2 separate regions of the Homo sapiens genome follow, and region 1 is linked to region 2. The links are contacts of gene promoters, found by promoter capture Hi-C in blood cells and fetal thymus (Javierre and others, 2016). All regions are on one chromosome and are shown on one strand. Each heading gives the region's core, a stretch centred on a gene start or on the middle of the fragment in contact. The rest is flanking DNA. Distances are from core to core; before and after follow the strand shown. Region 1 overlaps FRMD4A (FERM domain containing 4A). Region 2 holds the start of FRMD4A-AS2 (FRMD4A antisense RNA 2).

Evidence for each region. The method cuts DNA at HindIII sites, captures the fragments that hold promoters and counts their contacts. A CHiCAGO score of 5 or more calls a contact.
Region 1: a contact is called between a fragment that was not itself captured here and the fragment with the promoter of FRMD4A-AS2 in region 2, in 2 of 17 cell types (total B cells and M0 macrophages). The highest score is 5.5, in total B cells.

Annotation. Positions count from the first base shown.
Region 1 is chr10:13,648,257-13,652,791 of GRCh38, forward strand. It overlaps FRMD4A (FERM domain containing 4A), which reads right to left. Exons shown (of 25, transcript NM_018027.5): 24 at 3,647-3,718. The coding sequence ends at 3,649. It also overlaps a transcript of PRPF18 not described here. Among named protein-coding and RNA genes, the nearest start is that of PRPF18, 64 kb to the left of the region's middle. The HindIII fragment of the contact is 2,542 bases long and covers 674-3,215 here.
Region 2 is chr10:13,990,005-13,994,345 of GRCh38, forward strand. It overlaps FRMD4A-AS2 (FRMD4A antisense RNA 2), which reads left to right and starts at 1,576. Exons shown (of 3, transcript NR_199003.1): 1 at 1,576-1,988. The region is part of intron 2 of FRMD4A (FERM domain containing 4A); the gene reads right to left. The HindIII fragment of the contact is 11,405 bases long and covers 1-4,341 here.

The DNA.
Region 1 (4,535 bases), core at 695-3,194, 340 kb before region 2:
CTGGCCATGGGTATTACTATATGTAGGTGGTATGTGGATGATTCTGGGACACCTGTCCTGCAAACTTTGTCTCCACCCTAAGCTGACTTTTGACATTGTGCCTGACTGAAAAACTTCTAATGGGAGAGGTGGTTGGGCCTTGCAGGGGTCCTATGTTTTTCTTAGGGGGACAGTCTCTCCCTAACTCCACGTGGTCCTGGTGGTGCTCTCCACCATGGCGCCATCCTCACTCCCGTGGGGGCCAGGGGACAAGGAACCCAACGGGGCCGGGCCAATGAGAGTCCCCCGATCAAAATCCCTGGTTCAAAGGTGGCCACGTGCCTGAGCAGCTTTGAAACCACAAGGATGTCATTTCCTCCTGAGAACTAGGTTAACAGGAGGAGGAAGCAGAGCTAGAGATGGAAGGAGACCCAGCCAGCCCGGGCTCCAGTGACATCGGCTGGTACACGCTTTTGTTTGCTTACGCTTGTTGAACTGAGTTTTTCATATGTAACTAACGAATACTGGCACATGTAAGTAGTTTCTTAAACTGTTGATGAAATTTTTGTTTCTAACACAAACATGATCTGGGTCTGTTTGGGATAAAACTTCCCTAAGGGGTTTCATGAGATCTTAGGAACACTTAGCCAGTGTTTCCCAAAGTAGTCCTGTGAGTTGCTCTGAGGGGAAAAAAAGCTTCCATGGATAAATAAATTTGAGGATTCTGCCTTTCAGAGGCCTGAAATGTAAATGTATATGAAACATATATTAAAGGTTCTGAGAAGTCCTGGATTAGTTTGCCACAGAACTTCTGGAACAGTATCACCTATTAACATCCACAGAACACACTTTGAAAAATACTCTTAAATGGGCTAATATTATGAAATGTAGTTGACTCTCTTGTATGTTGGATCCTAAACAGTTTCTGGTTGAAACTATTAAAGTTGAGTCATAATTGTGACAACATAATCTGCTTCAGAGGGACTAAAAGTGCACTATGTATTGATCATAAAGGCTCAAGAAAGACCATTGAGTTCAAAGCAGTGATGTTTGGATCAGGCAGTAGATGAGGTTAAGGGTTCCTGTGGTGGTTTATTTGGTATGTGAAGAGCCTAACTGTTGGCTGGCCCATGGTGTTCTCCTGTGGTTCATTATGGAGGCTTCTGGGTCACAGAACCCACATATGAGAGGGCATCGGGAGGATCTGGATGATGGGGTGGGAGATGCTGGATTGGTGGTTTGGTTCTCAGGTGGCTCCTAGAGGAGCCGCAGTATGGAAACCACTGGCCTGCTCCTGCCTCTGAGAAAATGAAGCTGGAGGAAAAGATGTAAAGATGTATTTTTTCCAAACTTGCGATGTTTTATACAGAATCTTTCTTAGTGCTTCCACATAGTTATTGAAGTACGTAAGGTATTTTTAAAGCTATAAATGTTGCTTCATGTATTGGTCTTTTATTCTCAAGTCTGGGGAAGAGACCCTTGTTCTGGCTGCTCAGCTAAGCCTTTGCCTTTCAGTACAAATTCAATTTTCCGGTAGTAGTCAAGGAATGCCATGTGCTACGAAAGAGACCCTTAGGAAGCATTTATTCTTCACAAATAATACAAATGGGGCCACTAAATAGTTGCCCTAGTAAAAACCTAAAAACCTAAGTCAGTCATTCACTGGAACATGAGCTGGGGCAGGATGAAGATCTAGGTGTGCTCTCTCAACTGTGACCCAGAAGAGCAGCTTAGCCCTGGGCAGTCTGGGTCACAGCAAGTGGTGACTTCAGAATCTGTGGGGGCTTTCCACTGCAAGAATGCCCTTTCCCAGGGCTATGCTCAGAGATGTGTGGCCTGCAAAGGGTACTGGCTAAGCCAGGGCCGTCTGATACCAGACAGATGGCAAATTCACCCACATCTCACAGGGTTTTGTGGTTTATAACTGCTTGGCATAGGGAGGTGGGGCTGCTGGGAGGGAGGAATTTCAAACTGAATTATTTTTTTAAACGTATAACTAACTTACAGAACCAACTGGTGGCACATACTGGGGTTGTTGAACAGTCCCACAGTTGGTCACAAGGCCAGAGGATAGGGGATGAGGCCCTCTAGAGGCATCCTGTCTTACCTGGTCTGGGAAGGTGCTGTTGCTCAGTATAATGTATGTGTGTCCCTGCATGTGCACATGTATGCATGAGCATGAACTCGTGTATGTATTCGTGTATGTATGTAGGTATTTCAAGCAGTGCCTACATTCCCACCGCAGCTCTTTCAAACCTGGTTAATTCTACTTCTGGCTGTCAGCCCTATCTCCATCACCTTTAGCAGATGATCGCCCTCCCATACCGGGGGAGAAAAAGGCCATTCTTCCTACTTCAAAAATACTGCTCTCATGACATCACCCTGGCACTGGGGCTGGGGGAGGGGGTCTACCTTCCTTCCAAAGCCTAAGTCCCTGTCCTAATTGCCCATCTGTCAACTTTGCAATATTGTCCTAACTTACTTTTCAAAAGTCCAGTTTTTTCTCTACAGGAAACAAGACTCTCTACTGTTAACCACCCCTCACCCTTATCTGTGCATCCATGTTTTTGCACTTGGGATGGTCTCTGTCTCCACCTGTCTAAGCCCCCTCCTCCCACGGCAGGCTTCTGAGCCAGGCTCACATAACATCTCCGTGAACTCGAAAGTGACCCCCTCATTTCTGAATCCTCTCAGCATTGCATTTTGTTTCTAAGTCTTAGAGCACTTAATACATAAGTGTAGCAGTTTCTCATGCTCCTTGTATATCTTCTGATAGGCAATTTGATTTCAAGCCCTTGTGTCCCAGTTAGACTGTAAGGGTCCTGGGGCTAGGAACCAGACCAGGTGGTACTGTTATCTGCCCCTGTGCTTTGCAGATTTCGACGTGAATCTTGTTAAATGCACATTAGGTTCAGTAGGCCAGGGTGGTGCCCGGGAGACTAGCTTTCTAACGAGCTCCCAGGTGATGGTGGTAGTGATAAAAATGTTGGCTTATGGACATTTGGAAAAGCAGTGCTCATAGCTTTTGGTACTCAGCACAGCTGTTACTCAAGAATGCTGGGGGTGCTTCTGGAGCCACTGAGTCGGCCCTTGGTGCTTTGAAACTTACATTGCAGTGATGCTGTTCTTTTCAGGGACACTGATTACTCACAGTAAAATGTCTACAAATCTTTGAATGTAGATAGAACATGGTGAGTCTAAAATATACTTTGGGGCCAGGCGCACAGATCACTTAAAGCTTAAAGTCAGGAGTTTGAGACTATCCTGGCCAACATGGCAAAACCCCGTGTCTACTAAAAATACAAAAATTAGCCACGCATGCACCTGTAGCTACTAGGGAGCCAGGAGAATCGCTTGAACCTGGGAGGCAGAGGTTGCAGTGAGCCGAGATCATGCCACTGCACTCCAGCCTGGGCAACAGAACAAGACTCTGTCTCAAAACAAAACATACTCTGGGGGTCTTTTCTGGGAAGCAGTGTTAGGAATATCATAATTTTGATGTAAGAACCTTCAGCTAAAAACATAGTTCCAGTTCCCCATGTATCTAGAAATAAGGCATAAATACAGCATTCAGATGTATCCTTGTGGAAATGATGACATGGACAAAAGCAACACATGTGGGACCACAGACTCATGGGCAGTAGGAACAAAACTCCCCTTACGGTACCTCTATTCATCAGTACTTTGGTGAGGTGGAGACTCAGACCCATCCAGAATGGGTGAGTTTTCTGTTGCTTCTCTGAACAAAGGAAAGCAGGAGGAGGAAGAGAAGAGAGGTCATGTTACAGAGAGACACTGACACAGACACAGACACGATTAGTAGCTTATTAATATATCCGAAAGGCTTGCTGATTAGACACCTGAGTTAGCAACAGATCATACAAGTCATGCAGTACTTTCAGTCCCCATAATTGAGTCAAAATACCTAGTTTGTTAGGAGGGACGGGCCCTCTTTTACCCATGGCCTCATTTTGTATCACATCATAGCAAACAGTTTATGCCAAGAACCAAAATTGCTGTTTTTCAAATTTGGCTTGAGTCCTCACTAGTTGTAGGTGGTGAAATAGGCAGGTTTCAAGACCATCTTAAGTGCATAGGACCCTGAGGAGGGCTTGTACATTTCGGAGCCTGTTGACAGCCAAATAATACAATCAATCATATATTTGGATCAGGTGAGACTGGGCATGATTCAGAAAAGTTGGAAGATCTAGAGAGGGATCTTGCAATCTGAAGTTTCTTGTTTAGTCACTGGAGGTATGTATTACATATATGAAAGATGTGTCATTCTTTTATGAGTTAATCTTAGACCCCAAACCTTGCAGAGGCTGCCTGGCCAAACAGGTGAGAGCTGGGGTGTGGGTGGGTGAGTGTTAATGATCTAAAGGACAAAGGGGCAGCTACTGTCCAACAGACAGCCCAAGAAGTAGGAGCAGACACAGGAACACCGAGCTGGGGCTCCAGTTTCTCTTATTTTAAAAGGAATCAGAGGCAGCAGGGGATCGTTCAGTGGTTGTCAAAACTTGAGTGTGGGTCAGCATCACCTGGAGGGCTTATCA
Region 2 (4,341 bases), core at 326-2,825:
CCCATTTAGATTCGCTCTGGAGAGTTTTCTGAAGTCAGACTACCTGGGTTCAAACCCTGGATCTGCCACTGCTGGCTGCGTAACCCTGGACAAATGACTTAATCTCTCTCTATTCTCTGTTTTCCTATTCTAGAAAGTGGGGTTAGGAATAAGAGCCAACCTCAAAGGGCTGCTCTGAGGATCAGAGGAGAAAACAGCTGCATAGATTAAGCACATAGAAAGAGCTCATTAAAGGTACTTTCTATTCTTGGCTGTGCTTCTGGGTCTCAGTAACTTCCCTCTCTGCCTGGATTTGCTCCTGGCCATTTTCTTGGAGAGTGAGACCCATCCAGAGGGGAATGTGGGACAAGGAGGGAGGAGGAAGTAAGGACTGAGAAGGCCCAGAGACGTGCCTTCCTCTTCTTTCCAGGGTCCTGGCCTGTCTTGTCTGTTGGGCGGGTATGCTTCCTTCCTGGCCTTCCTTGTGGAGCATGTCTGGGAGTGTGCTAGGAAATGAGGGAGGAAAATATGTAACTTGATATCTGCTCCTTGACCCTGGCTGACCTGGTTAACTCTCTCCAGGATGGAAGCAAAGCCTGCCCGGGAAACCTTCCATTGCAGGAACATCTCGGCCTGAAGCTGTCATCAGGGAGCAGGATCTGCTTCCCGGACTCTGAGCAGAACAATGGGAGCCCCAGCAGGCTGGCGAGGCTGACAAGCCCTAGGACGGTGACCTCTCCGATCTCCAGATCGGAAACTCAGAAACGTGTAAGTGCCAGAATCCGCATTTGGGAATCTGTTATTTCTCCCTCTGCGAGTCAACCTGATCACCCTGGAAGCCTCACTGTCTCTCAGCCCTTGTTCCCATTTTTCTTTCCATGAACACCGCAATCAGATACGAGATTCCAGTAATGATGGTTCTTGAAAATTAAACAAATCAAAAAGAAAGCCAGCCAAGGTATGGAGTGGGGGACCTCTAAGTTCCCCTGGAGGAGACACTGGGGCCAGGTTCCGAGGTGCATTCGGAGCCAGAATCCCTAATGGAATTGAACAATTATCCTGAAGCTGCTCTCTGAAAGCCGCGGTTTTCCTAAAACACTGTGCTTGGCGTGCCTGGGCTTCTTGGCACTGGCCCATGACCCACAGCAGCAAATCGTTCCCAGGAAGCTATTGTTATTTGTGTATCTGATAGCATTCAGCTGAGTACACTGACAGCAACATTTAGAAAGGAAAAGAAAAAAGAAGCGTAGAGTGAAAAGGACAAAAAGGAGGCTTCCAACATCCTGGTGGGAACAGAAAACCAGCAAAGCCTCTTTTCCAGCCCTTATCCTTGTGAGTTTGGACTCTGCAGAACTGTCATCCCCCAGGCATAGCTGCAGCTTGTATGAAGGTGGGCATCAGGCGCGGAGATTCAGGACAGTGTGCACCTGCTTTCCTCCAACGGGACCCCCTCTGTTCTTCCCAGGAATGCCTGTAAACTGCCACTGCCTCTAGGGGCTGCACCAAGTCCCTGTGTACTCCCAGGACACAATGGAGTGGAATGGAGTGGCTCTGTTCTGTCAGGGCCTAACATTCCAAATGAATTCATTCCCTTCTGGGAAAAAAGAACCACCTTGCTCAGAGCACAATGTTCCCATGTCTTGGCTTACCTTGAAGCATTTTTGATACACCTGTTGGGACAATGCGTTCTGCCAAGAGAAGGGAAGTAGCATACTTTGTTCTATTTTTTACTCTCAATGGGCTACGTTTCCATTGTGTTGGTTTCCCTTACAGAAAGTAACACACACAGAAGAGAAGGTTATAGGATTCCATGCTGCTTGGCAAAGGCACAAAATATGTGCACATATTTACATGGAATATGAGGGTAAACTAGAAAATTAAGGGTAATCTAAAATAGAAAAAAAGAAGAAAACAATAAGTTAAAAGTATGAAAAGACATCCAGAATGAGCAAGTTACTGAGGTTGTGCCTCAACTTTAGCTTGAGTTTCCTGGCAGCAAAGGTAAAAAGGTAAGTACATTGAATCACATACTTCTTATTATCTTCTAAAAGGAATTAACGGAGTGGAATATATAAAAAGCACTGAATAACATAAGGAACAAGATCTTCAATGGTCATTTTGAAAAAGCCTCAGAAGCGTGCTTATAGATGTTTCTTCTGCTGGCTTTCTCAGCAAGATGATACTAAGATACCATCCTAACCACCTCATCTCTGCCTATAGCCCAGGCTATGCCTAGACATGCCTGGAGCTATGCCAGTGGTTCAAGGGGTTTCTACAAACACTTGCTTCTACCTTTGCTTTAAATTGGTTTCTTCTCCTCTGATTTCTCTGGTCTCCACCTGTTTCTTGATTCTCCAGCTATATTTGACACATCTAACCGGATTCATGAGTCTTTAGCCTGTCTGTGGGTTGGCTTGCAGGCTCACTGACCCCAGCAAACTCCCATGCCTGGCCTTGGGTCCTGCCCACCCACCTCCATGTCCTGCCTAAGTCTCGGGTCACATGGCCAGCCCCAGTCCAGGCCAAGAATAGGTTGCTGCTCATTCAAAACAAAATGACACTAAACATCAGCCCTCAATAGAGAGGAATTAAATCTTAACTTTGTAAAATAATTTCAGCAGGGAGTTGAGAAAATACAGCATAACTATGTTGATATTTGATTATTTAATTTAATAAAGATCTAGTGTAGGCCAGGCATGGTGGCTCGCACCTGTAATCCCAGCACTTTGGGAGGCCAAGACACGCGGATCACCTGAGGTCAGGAGTTCAAGACCAGCTTGACCAAATGGTGAAACCCTGTCTCTACTAAAAATACAAAAATTAGCCAGGCATGGTGGCGCATGCCTGTAATCCCAGCTACTTGGGAGGCTGAGGCAGGAGGATCGCTTGACCCCCGGTGGCAGAGGTTGCAGTGTGCCAAGATTGTGCCATTGCACTCCAGCCTGGGCAATAGAGTGAGACTCTGTCTCAAAAAAAAAAAAAAAAAAAAAAAAAAGGATTTAGTGTAAAGAGATTAAAGTAATGACTAGCCAACATATCCATTGATCTGCTTCTCTTGCGTGTCCTATGTCCCTACAAAACTTTGGGCTAAGTGCTAGAAGGTAGTGAATTCAAAGTTGCCTTATCCGGCAAGAGACAGTGAGGACATCCTGAGTTTAAAACTGAAGAGTTGCATCTCTGCTGTGGATGTGACAAGTGTGAGCTGCTGTTTAGAAGGGACAATGGAGAAGCCTGACTTGCCTCCTCCCCCAGCAGGGACATCATTCTATTTGACATCGTGGTGAGATCCAGAGTTCCTCAGGGTTTAGCCAACGTTTCCATCAGAAAAGGAGCTGTGAATCCATTCAAGTTCTTGCTCAAGGACTTGGCTGGGACCCCAGAATTCCACTCCATCTAGCATGAAAGAGATGATTTAGAACTGAAAGGTTTTAGTCCAGCTGTTACCAGTCAGCCACCTTGATCATAAAAGAACCTCTGTTTGGCTCTTGTGCAATCTCTAGTTTTAAGTAGGACCACACACTGCTGGTCTGCAAATTTGAGTTAGCAAAATATACCTCTAGGTGGTAGGGTGATTGTTCTATTGGCTGAAATTGCTTGATTTGTTCTGTTTTAACACCATCAATGGAGAATATCTTCCCAAAACAAAAAAATGTTGCTGATGATATTAATAAGTTGTTCTATCAGGCAATAATTAGACCAGAGGTTCAGTTGCTTCTGAAGTTGTTGTCCTATTGCTAGGTAATAAAACCATGTTCTCAGCAAAGAGGATGTCATCTTCCTGTTTCCTCTAGCTGGAGGACGTGTATTCAATGTATTCAAATATATTTTAAAATTTGCATTTGACCTGTCAGAATAGGTTTTTTTTTTTTAAAAAAATATATATTCTGATTTAGCACTAGGATTATGCTGCAGCTGGAGGGCCTGAGGATCTATTTTAAGATTAGTTTTTTTTGTAGCAAGATGTTTCCTTTTTATGAAAATCAAGCCTGGGGCAGGGGAGAATATGTAGATATTTAGGGTGGGACAGTCCTTTTTTTTTTTTTTGAGATGGAGCCTTGCTTCGTTGCCCAGGCTGGAGTGCAGTGATGCGATCTTGGCTCACTGCAACCTTCACCTCCCGGGTTCAGCGATTCTGCTGTCTCAGCCTCCCGAGTAGCTGGGATGACAGGAGTGTGCCACCACGCCCAGCTAATTTTTTTTTTTTTTTTTTTTTTTTTGAGACAGTCTCATTCTGTCACCAGGCTGGAGTGCAGTGGTGTGATATTGGCTCACTGCAATCTCTTCCTCCCGGGTTCAAGCAATTCCCCTGCCTCAGCCTCCCGAGTAGCTGGGACTACAGGCGTGCCCCACCACACTCAGCTA